Linked DNA regions of Homo sapiens: region 2 is linked to region 1. Evidence: promoter capture Hi-C in 16 types of primary human blood cells and fetal thymus (Javierre and others, 2016). All regions are on one chromosome and are shown on one strand. Each heading gives the region's core, a stretch centred on a gene start or on the middle of the fragment in contact. The rest is flanking DNA. Distances are from core to core; before and after follow the strand shown. Region 1 holds the start of ABCD2 (ATP binding cassette subfamily D member 2). Region 2 has its middle 10 kb from the start of MIR6125.

Region 1 (6,125 bases), core at 1,608-4,107:
GTTGGTAAACTGACCTACCTCCAGCTAAGTCCTATTTGAATCTCTAGTGTCCTTTGCTTCTAGAGTTCTCACTGCCATGCTCCTCCCCTAATATGGCTGTCTCTGGTTGTATGTATTGCAAACCACTTGCCTCGACTGCCAGCTGCTGTCTGCATCCTTCTGTGTACCATGTTCTGCCTAACAACATCCTGCCATCACCCCCAGTTAGGTTTACTCTGGCCTTTAACCTGTCCTGTCACTGCTAACCCTTTTGTGTGTAGCTGTTAGGAGATGTGACATAAATGAAAGGCAACCTTATCTTGCATACAACAAAAGCAAGAGCTTAGGAATAAAAGATTTTGGCAATAACTTCCATGACCACTATTATCTGTACATACAGGCTTAAAAAGTCTTAATGGGATGATGGATTATGCTACTAATATGGCCAGCTATCAAAAAAACTTGCATGAGTTTGACACTCATGTGTCAGTCAGTCTGCTGAATTGAATGCAAACAAATGAAGAGATATGTGATGATTGTCAGAATTAATATGAGTACATAAGAAAGAAGTTTTAAAATTTTAAGAATATGGTTACTTATGAAAGTGAGGATAGTTCTTTGTGATAAACTCAGTAATGAAGATCATTTAATGCTGAGATGGGTTTTATATTCTAGCACAGAGGTTTGCAAACTTCTATAAAGGGCCAAATAGTACATATTTTAGTCTTTGTTGCATCCACCACTGTGGCTTGAAAGAAGCCATAGACAGAGAGTAAATGAATGGGTGTGACTGTTTTCCAATAAAACTTTATTTATAAACACAAAAATGAGAATTTTATATAATTTTCACAGGACAAAATATTCTTGTTTTGAAGTATTTTCAACCACTTTAAAAATGTAAAAATCATTCCTAGCTTAAGGGTCATATAAAATTAAGTGGCAGGCTAGATTTGGCCCACCAGTTGTAATTTGCCAACTTCTGTTCTAGCTTGATGCATATTTTCCTAAGCTTTTAATTGACTGGAAATGTGTATGTATGTTGGGGGCCAGCTGCTGGTGAACAAAACTGGCTGTAGCTACTGAGCATACTCAGTGTCACTTAGAAATCCCCAGAAGTTTCAGAATATATATCACTTTTGTAAGATTTCAGTAGATACCACAAGCAGAAGAGCAAGCAGAAAGGGAGATTTCCGAGAATTTTAATGAGATGGGGGGCGGGGACAGTGAAGAGCAAAAAAAATGGTTTTTCCATATCCAAAAATATACTCAGCCCTGACTTAAAAAATGCTCTTGGCTGGGCGTGGTGGCCCACGTCTATAATCCGAGCACTTTGGGAGGCTAAGGCAGGTGGATCACTTGAGGCCAGGAGGTTGAGACCAGCCTGGCAAACATGGCAAAACCCATCTCTACTAAAACTACAGAAATTAGCCAAGTATGGTAGGCGCACCCTCGTAATCCCAGCTACTCGGGCTGCTGAGGCACCAACCTGGGAGGCGGAGGCTGCAGTGAGCTGAGATCGTGCCACTGCACTCCAGCCTGGGTGACAGAGAGAGACTCTGTCTCATAAAAAAAAAAAAAAAAAAAAAAAAAAAAGCTTTTTACATTTTCAAAAATATGCAGAATTGTCCTTGACTGTTGAACAATTTAAATCCTCCATTATGGATGTGAAGAATTTTAAGACTCTTAGTTTTTATCAAATAACCAAATGGAAATAGGAAGTAGCCAGTAGATTATCTCTACAGCTAAACAAAACAAACAAAGCAGAAACCTGCAAAAGACAAAGCATTCTTGAAAAATGAAGTAAGGTCCTAGAGAAGCTATTTCCACCATCCAACACCAGCTGAATTCCCAAATGGTTAAACTTTCACTATAAGTGCTACCCCACTCCAAGTAAAAACTACCTAACACATGGGAGTAGTAAACATGAAACATTGCTCTCATTTATTTAATAGTCGTCACCTTGTAAATAAATATGAGTACATCAGATCTCCAGTTATGGGGCTGGAAGATTTTTAGCATAAGGACAAGTAGGATGCAGAGGAAAAAGGGAGAATGGCTAGAGGCATAGCAAATAATTATTTTCTGTAACACGGAAGACTTTTATCCTATTTATTTACAAGGGAAACCCTCGATTACAACTTGTCTATTAGGTTCTGAGACCTTTTGTGAAATCAGACCCCCAAAAAAGCCGGGGGGATCTGTGAAAAACAGATCCAAGTGTATTTGATATTTGGCATTCTCCGGTGTCCCTCCCACTTGTCACTTTCTTTTCTGATCCGTTTCAGATTCATTCCATATCCTTTTCATATTCATTTTATGTTGATCCTCTTGTCCCTCCTCCCTCATTTTCGTGGTTCCTTCTCCCTCCTCGTCTCATTAAAACTCTTGCAAATCTCCCTTTCTGCTTGCTCTTCTGTTTGCGGTAGCTGCTGAAATCTTACCGAAGTGATGTATATTCTGAAACTTCTGCGGGTTTCTAAGTGACATTGAGCATGCTCAGTAGCTAGGGCCGGTTTTGTTCGCTTGGAAATCTCCCTTTCTGCTTGCTCTTCTGTTTGCGGTATCTACTGAAATCTTACCGAAGTGATGTATATTCTGAAACTTCTGTGGGTTTCTAAGTGACACTGAGCATGCTCAGTAGCTAGAGCCGGTTTTGTTCGCCAGCAGATGGCCTGATTCGACCTCTCCAAAAATAGACATTTTAACTCTCTGAACTCCTGTTTAAGGAAGGATGTAATTCGCTTTGCTCTCTCCTCATTTTCAAGGTTCAAAGGGAAGCTGCGAGGATTCCAAGGTCCCACCGCCCTCACAGCCAATGAGGGGCCTGGGAGGGAGGAGCTTGGTGCAGCTTGAGCTTCTGAGAGAATCATTCCCGGTAGATGCAGCGGAGTCTGAGCTCTGCTGCATCTGTCACAGCAGAACAAAATTAAAAACACAACAGTGGAAGAGAAACGCTGCAGACTATGGGACGCTGTAGGACTTTCTAAAACATTTGCTGGGGATTTCTGTGAAGCATGATCTTTTAAAACGAATTCTTTTGGAAGCCGGTTTGGGTAACTGGGAAAATGACACATATGCTAAATGCAGCAGCTGATCGAGTGAAATGGACCAGATCGAGTGCTGCTAAGAGGGCTGCCTGCCTGGTGGCTGCGGCATATGCTCTGAAAACCCTCTATCCCATCATTGGCAAGCGTTTAAAGCAATCTGGCCACGGGAAGAAAAAAGCAGCAGCTTACCCTGCTGCAGAGAACACAGAAATACTGCATTGCACCGAGACCATTTGTGAAAAACCTTCGCCTGGAGTGAATGCAGATTTCTTCAAACAGCTACTAGAACTTCGGAAAATTTTGTTTCCAAAACTTGTGACCACTGAAACAGGGTGGCTCTGCCTGCACTCAGTGGCTCTAATCTCAAGAACCTTTCTTTCTATCTATGTGGCTGGTCTGGATGGAAAAATCGTGAAAAGCATTGTGGAAAAGAAGCCTCGGACTTTCATCATCAAATTAATCAAGTGGCTTATGATTGCCATCCCTGCTACCTTCGTCAACAGTGCAATAAGGTACCTGGAATGCAAATTGGCTTTGGCCTTCAGAACTCGCCTAGTAGACCACGCCTATGAAACCTATTTTACAAATCAGACTTATTATAAAGTGATCAATATGGATGGGAGGCTGGCAAACCCTGACCAATCTCTTACGGAGGATATTATGATGTTCTCCCAATCTGTGGCTCACTTGTATTCCAATCTGACCAAACCTATTTTAGATGTAATGCTGACCTCCTATACACTCATTCAAACTGCTACATCCAGAGGAGCAAGCCCAATTGGGCCCACCCTACTAGCAGGACTTGTGGTGTATGCCACTGCTAAAGTGTTAAAAGCCTGTTCTCCCAAATTTGGCAAACTGGTGGCAGAGGAAGCACATAGAAAAGGCTATTTGCGGTATGTGCACTCGAGAATTATAGCCAATGTAGAAGAAATTGCCTTTTACAGAGGACATAAGGTAAGATAGAAATTAAGGTGATGGGTGAAATGTGAAACTGTTCAAGTTGCCACTGCAGTGCCAGATACCATCTGTTGTCCTGTCGATGGACCCACTTCTTTAGTGTCTTAGATTCCTCTGACATCTAAACCTGAATTAAAATATATGCTTCATTACCCCTTTTAACTGTAACCAGTTAAAGGATTATAGGGTGCAAACTTTTCTAAAGTTTCAGAAGAATAAAATTTGCAACACTCTAAAAAAGTCTACTTAGCCTCAGTTACTCAAATATGCTCAGAATTATTTCTAACGCATTTTCTTAAAACTTAAATCCCAACTTGGTAGGTCATCCTAAAGCACCTACCAGAAGAAAATATATATTTAGAAACTAAGACTAAACATATTTCCACTGAAATGGAAAATTTAGAATGATATTCTTTGTTGTTCCTTTGTTGTCCAAGAGGGGGGAAGAGCCAGGGTTTCTTATAGAAGACATTTTTAACAATTTTGCATGTCTGATCAATATGGAGCATCCCCATTCCCAAGAAGCGTAGGAGAGTGTCTCACAAAATGGCATTTCTACTACTCTTAGTTCATGTTCAGCACTGTACTTTGACAAAATGAAAAGAGGAAGTGAAATGAAATTTTGTCTAGCTTTGAAAAAAAAAAAAAGCTGAAATTAGAGAAGAAATGAGGAGTACAAAAGGAGTTTCAGAATGTTTTTAATTATTAAAGATTTTCAACATTAAGCAGATCCCTAAAACAATTAGCCCAATTATACATACTAACAGTGCATGAAGGTAACTTCAGAATATGAAATGACAGAAATTTTGAAGGCAATGCAATCTTAATTTAAATGACTTGGTGAATAAAATAAAGTATTCTACTGTTGAAGATGGCATGTCAATCACCAAGCAGAATTATTTAATTTTTAAAGCATCTGTAATTATCAGTGTCTTTAATAGCAGTAGCAACCTGAAAAATAATATTTAAAGTAAATTTAGGAATCCTACTCCCACTTGAAAATTGACCTCATATATTGTATTATATCATATTGATTTGTGATTCTTCTTGAACTATTGAATTCAATGATATAAATTATAGTGTGCTTAGACTTCTTGCATAAAAGACAAAATCCAACAAATTGAGTCAGTTCAAAAGTGGAGTCTATACATATATATGTCATGTGTCCATTTTCAGATATTTTTGGTGTAATCAACAAGGACAAAGCTCTAATAATTGTTTATTCATGTCTCATATAATATCATTTAATTTTAACATCTCATACATAAAATTTAAATATCATAACTATAAATTACTTATATGTATTTTATACCTAACATTATGTCCACTGAGTAGCATAAACTTTTAAAAATAATACACATGTGACCAAAACTAAATAATAACTAATACTGGTATTAATCTGCATTTATTGGTTAAGATGCATAGATAATGCCATACTAAAAAAAAAAAAGAATAATATGTATATATCTTTAAAAAAAGTCCTCAACTCTTTTTCCTCTCTATAGGTAGAAATGAAACAACTTCAGAAAAGTTACAAAGCTTTAGCAGATCAGATGAACCTCATTTTATCCAAACGTTTGTGGTACATCATGATAGAACAGTTCCTGATGAAGTATGTTTGGAGCAGCAGTGGACTAATTATGGTGGCTATACCTATTATCACTGCAACTGGCTTTGCAGATGGTGGTAATGACATTTATGCTTAATCTCAAATATATTTTTAACATTATTTCTTTTGAAGTTGTCATTGCTAGTTTTATGTGAGCTAAACTGTGTACATGGTCATATTCTAGTTAACAATGGTCCGAAACAATGGCAGACTTTACAGCGTCCAGTGATAAGACCAGCAGTATGAAATAAGGAGACAGTGGTTCAAAGACGTTCCCAGTTCTGAGCTATTTCAGAGATCTCTGATGCAGTGTTTCTCGGAGTTGACCTTGAGCAATTTTAATTATATTGCCTAATATAGGATGATTCTTTAGTTTACACTTAACCTCAGAATAAGTTAGTACCCTCAGAAAGAGTATAACACAAGCATTCCTCATGTGTTATAAACATTAGTTCTATACATCCCATACATTTAGTCTATAAATATTCTATAACTGAATTTGCCCTGCTTTGCGATTTGAAAAGTCCATT
Region 2 (6,125 bases), core at 2,264-4,763, about 23 Mb before region 1:
AAATGTTAGAAAGTTTAGGACTAGGAAGTCTGATGAGAAAGTATGTGGATGGACCTATGGGACTCGGCACAAAGTGTAAAGATTTTTGCATTACAAGTGAACACCAACCATAAAGGATATATCACAAAAGAGGTACTGAATAAACAGAATGACTCCAATGGTTGGCATCAACAAGCTTCTATCCTCAAAGCTGGAACAATGGGCACAAGAAGGGTAGTCATCATGACTGTGGATGGCCCCACAGCATGAGCTCTCACTTACCAACAGTGATTTGGCTATTGCTGCTGCCAAATGTCCAACCTGTCAGGAACAGAGACCAATATTGAGCCCTTGATATAGAATCATCCATGGAGGAGAATCAAATGACAAGTTAATTACATGGATCCCTTCTATTATGTAAGGGGCAATGAATGATTCATCTTGATTAGAATTGACACATATTTCAGGTATGGATTTTCCTTTCCTGCCAATAGTGCTTCAGCTGCTTCCACCATACTTATGGAGTGTTTGATCTCATGACACAGGATCTTCCCAATATCACATCAAACAAAGGGATTCATTTTATTGCAAAAGAGATGTGGTAGTGAGCACGTGACCATGTGATTCACTGATTCTTTCACATAACACTTCACCCAGAACTGTAAACAATTGCCGGCCGGATAGAGCAACGGAATGGCCTGTTGAAGAATCAGCTTAAGCACCACCTTAGATACAATAATACCCTATGCAGTATACCCTCTGAATCAATGGCCAGCATATGTTGCTGTGTTCCCAGCAAATAGAATTTATGGATATGGGAATCAAATGTAGAAGTAGAGGTGGTCCTGTTTACCATCATTGTCAGTGACCCAATTGGGGATTTTGTGCTACTCATCTCCATAGCTCTGAGATTTGTAGGTTTAGAGGTATTGTTCCCAAAAGGTGAGCATTTCCACCAGGAGACACAGCAAGAGGCCCAGTGAACTTTAAACTATGGCTGTCACTGGGGCATTTCTGCCTTCTACTGCCAAAGGATCAGGCAACGAGAGCAGTCACCATCCTGGCAGGTTTATCATTCTAAATACTGGGAGGAGGTCAGGCTGCTCTTATACAGTGATGGCAAAAAGGAATGTATTTGGCATCTCTTGGTATGCCCTTGCACAACTTTGACAGTAAATTGACTAGTAAAGTATTGATGACCTGAGAAAGGTATGGTGACTCTCAAGGATGAGTGACTGGATCATCCCACCAGGTAAGCCAACAAGACCAGCAGAGGAGCTAGTCAAGGTGAGGAAACTCTAGAATGGTAGATCAGGAAGCATATATTGAGTATCACTTTTGGTCTTTGCAATGGAATCTATGTATCTCGCTAACTTTCTTCCCAAGTTCTGGAGCTGCTTCAAAAACTTTTGCAAAAATAAAGGTCTGAGTGGAGCATGGGGTGAATTGAATTGGATAATCTACTGTGCCATTAACATCATCCTTCATGACTAAAGAATTTATTCCTCTAGCTGCTGGGATTTCTACTGATCTCAGCTGTCAGTCTTCTTTGGGAATCACTCTCAATAGAAAAGAGGCACCCTGTGTAGTTCATGCTCTCTTCAGGGGGCAGCCAGTGTGCAATAACTAATTGATGTAGGGTTTTAAAGACTTGGCTTCATTTCCTCTATTGGAAACAACTGTGAGGAGCAATCTAGCTTCAGTGGGTTGGTTAAGTTCTTTTTATAAATTAATTACAGCCCACTTTCTTTCTCTGCTCAATCTTGTTTGCTTCCTTTCTTCCACAAGTGTTGATCCTGAGAGCACTTCTTTACAGGCTATTTTCCATCTCAGAGTCTGCTTTCAGGGCACTTGGGCCTGCACCACACCCTTGTTTTGGTCTTTACCCTGGCAGTGGCCAAAATTTACTTTTTCTTTGAGCTGGGGACATGTTGAGAAACAGTTTCATTTTTAAGCCTACAACTTTCAGTATTTCTAAACTCTCTATTTCCTCTCAATTCTGTTTGTAACCCAGGCAGTTCATTTTGAGCTCACCACTTTCTTATGCTTTTTCAAAGGCACCTGGCAGCAGCCTGCTCTTCAATATTCTTCTTTGAAATCACCTCATCCAAATTCACAAGTTTACTAGATCTGCATGTTCTGTATTCCATAGTATTGCAGGTGACAATTTTACCAAATGTTTTGCCACTGCATAATACTGTTGTCATTATTCCAGCCTCCTATAACAATTACATGACTACCTGCTGCCCATTCCCAAAGCCAGTGCCACATATTTTGGGTTTTAGTTATGGCAGCACTGTACTTTATACATCAAATTCTGAATCAGCCCAATTTTTCTGACTTTCAAAACACCCAAAGTCCTAGTGCCATACAACAATATACGCATATTTCCTACTCATGCATTTTTGGGTTAGCTGGAGATTGGCTGGTCTTGGCGAGACTCAGCTGCTCTCTGAGGATTAGGTCAGGTCCTGGTCTGTTCCACATATCTCTCATCCTCTTTAAACCAGAGGCTAGCTGAGTCATGTTCTCGTTGCAAAAAGAGATCAAGAGACAAGCCTAACTATGCAAGACCTCAATTAATATCAGGGAAGTACATTCCTTCTGTAGGAGAGGGGAAGGGAGTAATCATTTGCTGAAAATTTCTCTAATATACTGCTTTGCCAGAAAGATAAAGCATGAAAATATGGAAGAACAGTTAAGATACATAGAGAATGGCCAAAACCCAACATGTTTAATAGGAGTTCCAGAATAAAAAATAAACAGGCAATATTCAAAGACATAATACCTATTTTTTTTCCAGAATGGAAAAAAACCTCTAGTTTTTAGATTCAGAAATTACAATGAATTTAATAAGAACAAAACTCACACACATACACACCCACACACATCTATATGTACAGAAATTATAATGAGTTTGAGAAGAACAATAAAAATAAAACAAGTCATACATATACATGCATAACTATAAATACCTTGACCCATTCTCATGAACATAAAAATATGAACTCAGAGAAAAATCTTAAATATAAAAAGAAAAGATAGTTCCTTATTTTAAAAATGCGATTTAGATAGAAGCATTGGATAGAAAACTTATCATCAGTTATAGTATATGCCAGAAATATATGCCAGAATATCATCTTCAAAGTGCCAAGGGGAAAATTACTGTTAACTTAAAATTCTGTATTCAGTTAAAGTATTCAAGACGAAGGGAAATAAAGAGTTATTTTTAAAGAGACTGAATTTACAACATATTGATGCTTGCTAAAAGAAGTCCTTCTGCCTTCCACCATGAGTGCTTCTCACCAGATGCAGATGCCCCATCTTGAACTTTTACAGACATCAGAATCTGAGACAAATAAACCCTTTTTCATTATAAATTACCCAGACTCAGGTATTCCTTTAGAGTAACACTAAATGGACTAAGACATTACTTAATTTTAGGCCCCCCAAAAAAGTGAAACCACCCTTGCTAGACTGCCAATACTGTAATCCAAACCCGCTGTGAGGCACAGGTGGAGAGGGCAAAAATTCTCTTCAGGGCTCTTTGTCTGAATCTCCTGTTTAGAGATGGAGATGGAAACTCTTGCTCTTAAAGAAAAAAGAGAGTTTGAAAAAGAAGCCCACATAAAATGTAGACCTCACACTTTTGCACCCAGCGAAATATCTGGTGTTGGAAGAATGCAATGGGTTTTTGCTGGTACTGAGCACTGAGTCTGAGAGGGAACAATGGGTATTTGGAAGGTTGCTCTGAATCTTGCTGACTACACCAGAAATTTTGACCTAAGGGAAGAATCTCAGGCAAAGAGGAAGAAACTGAGGCACATTTAGCATATGCAAAGATCACATGGTGAGAGAGGAAAAGTGGGAGAGCGTGGGGAGAGGTGCCAGGCTCTTTTTAATAATCAACTGTCATGGGAACTAATAGAGTAAGAACTTACTCATTACCACAAGGATGGCATCAAGCTATTCTTGAAGGACACAGATTAAGTAGAGAGTTAATTTAAGCCAAAGGTGAGGACTGCAGCCTGGAAATCAGATTCTAGTTGCCCTCAATATATGCTCTGATTAACAGCAGTTACAAGTGGTCTTTTTCCTTTTTTTTTTTTTTTTTAGGAAAAAAAAGGAGGGAGCAGTCCCTAAGTTGTTTACCAAGAATTTAAAAAATAACAGTCTATCAATTGGCTGTACATTGTTCTTTCTATCACAAATTCCAGGAACATGAAGATACTGGGTGAGGGTCACATTGTGCAATGTGTGGTAACATTTTAGGTAATTTATCAGCTAGTCTGAAACCACAGGGAAGGAATGAAAAAAAAAAATTTTTAAACAATTACCCTGGGGCATGGGTGTGGGGGATGCGACTGAAGTATCATGCTCACTGCTGTCTGGGCCTGATAATTTTGCATCTCTCACATTCTTCAGACTGCTCTGAGCCATTTTCTCAAATGATGATTGCTAGATGCTGAGGGAAGGGAGCAATGGGTAGTTGTTGTTTAATGGGTACAGAGTGTCAGTTTTGCAAGATGAGTTTGGGAGACTGGGTGCACAACAATGTTAATGTACTTAACTACTAAATCACACACTTAAAAATGTTTAAGTTAGTAAATTTTATTATATATATTTTGCCGCAATTAAAAATAAAAAAGAATTTGAAGGGAAATAATTTCAACAAATAAAGTAAATGGAGTGGAAGGAGATATGGAGAGCTGGTAATAAACAGGCATTAAGTCCAGCAAGATGAATAAGCTCTAGAGATCTGCTTGACGACTTGGTACCTATAGTCAACAATAATTTACTGTACACTTAAAAATGTGTTGAGATCTCATGTTAAGTGTTCTTGCCACAATACAGTAAAATAATAAGTTTTACACATTTTTAAAAAGGTTATACACCTCATAAAAGTGATAGAGAAGGAGACAGCCAAATGCTGCCCAGGCCATTGTGCACAGGGAGCTTACCTAAACGTGCCCACAGTGAAAAATTCTGTCCCTTAACACATGCGTTGTATGTATAGACGAGCTCCTTGGGTTTTCCTACTTTGCTGTGCATTACAACTCATGTGTCATGTTCAAAGACATTCTGTCCCTTAACACATGCCTAGTAAGGGAAATAAATCAATATGGAGTGGCTCAAACTAAGGGCCCACCCCTGCACTGGGACAATGGGGTGGACCCACCTGGAATCCACACCTGATAAAGTTGGGCAAAGCCTGGCCTCTTCAGCTCATGTGTGGTGACCTGGTATTCAGTCTGTGAGGTGGAAGCCTGTTGAAAGGACCGCCTTTTTTCTGAGAGCTTTCTTTTAATAAATTCTGCTCTCCTCACCTTTCAATGTGTCCATGTACCTAATTTTTCCTGGTTGTGACACAAGAACAAGATTTTAGCTGAACTAAAGAGCAAAAAATTCTGCATCAAAAGGAGAGCCAAGAAAAGAAAAAGAAACAAAAACTCAAAAACTCAAAAAAAGAAACAGTCTTTCTAATTTTTCATTGATTTTAATTCAGTGACTATTTCTCTGAACAATAAAGTTGCAACTTATTTGAATAAAAACACTCAAAATAAAGGGAACACTAAAACTTACAACTGAATGTGTCATTTGCCTGATTATAGGTCTTTGGGAATCTGCAAGGTAACTTTTATTCCTGCAAGGTATAGATTTTAGCTTTTCTTTTAAAAATCTAATTGTTTATGGATCTTCTAGTTGGCCTGGTAAAAGGAAAAAATATATCACTGTGAAGTCACATTCTACGTAAGGGTTATGTTCCAAAGCTATCTAGAAAATTGTTGTGTAGTCAAAGGTACTGTTGAAAATTCCTTACTTTGCCCTTAAAGTAAAAAAATGCGGTTTTGTACTTTGAACATGACATGAGTTGTAATGCACAGTAAAGTAGGAAAACTCGAGGAGCTTGTCTACAAGAAAGAACAAGGCAAATGCTGATGTCTGCACTTTCAGAATGTTTGGTGATAATAGTTTTTGAGAGAAGTTGAATGAGAGTAAGTGGAATTAGAGTGCTCTCACTGACCTGTAGGGTTTACTCAATTCTGTTTTGACATTACACCTCTATAACTTTAATACTACACAATAATAAATGATTTTGTTGTGAAAAAAATGGTGGCGAGGAATTAGTTCCAACTTACATAAGA

What was found. The method cuts DNA at HindIII sites, captures the fragments that hold promoters and counts their contacts. A CHiCAGO score of 5 or more calls a contact.
Region 2: a contact is called between a fragment that was not itself captured here and the fragment with the promoter of ABCD2 in region 1, in 1 of 17 cell types (total CD4 T cells). The highest score is 5.3, in total CD4 T cells.

What each region holds. Positions count from the first base shown.
Region 1 is chr12:39,616,535-39,622,659 of GRCh38, reverse strand. ABCD2 (ATP binding cassette subfamily D member 2) reads left to right here and starts at 2,857. Exons shown (of 10, transcript NM_005164.4): 1 at 2,857-3,983; 2 at 5,492-5,672. The coding sequence starts at 3,045. RefSeq lists enhancers at 1,237-1,316, 2,546-3,065, 3,376-3,455. The HindIII fragment of the contact is 3,952 bases long and covers 1,576-5,527 here.
Region 2 is chr12:62,247,241-62,253,365 of GRCh38, reverse strand. It overlaps a transcript of TAFA2 not described here. Among named protein-coding and RNA genes, the nearest start is that of MIR6125, 10 kb to the left of the region's middle. The HindIII fragment of the contact is 6,671 bases long and covers 178-6,125 here.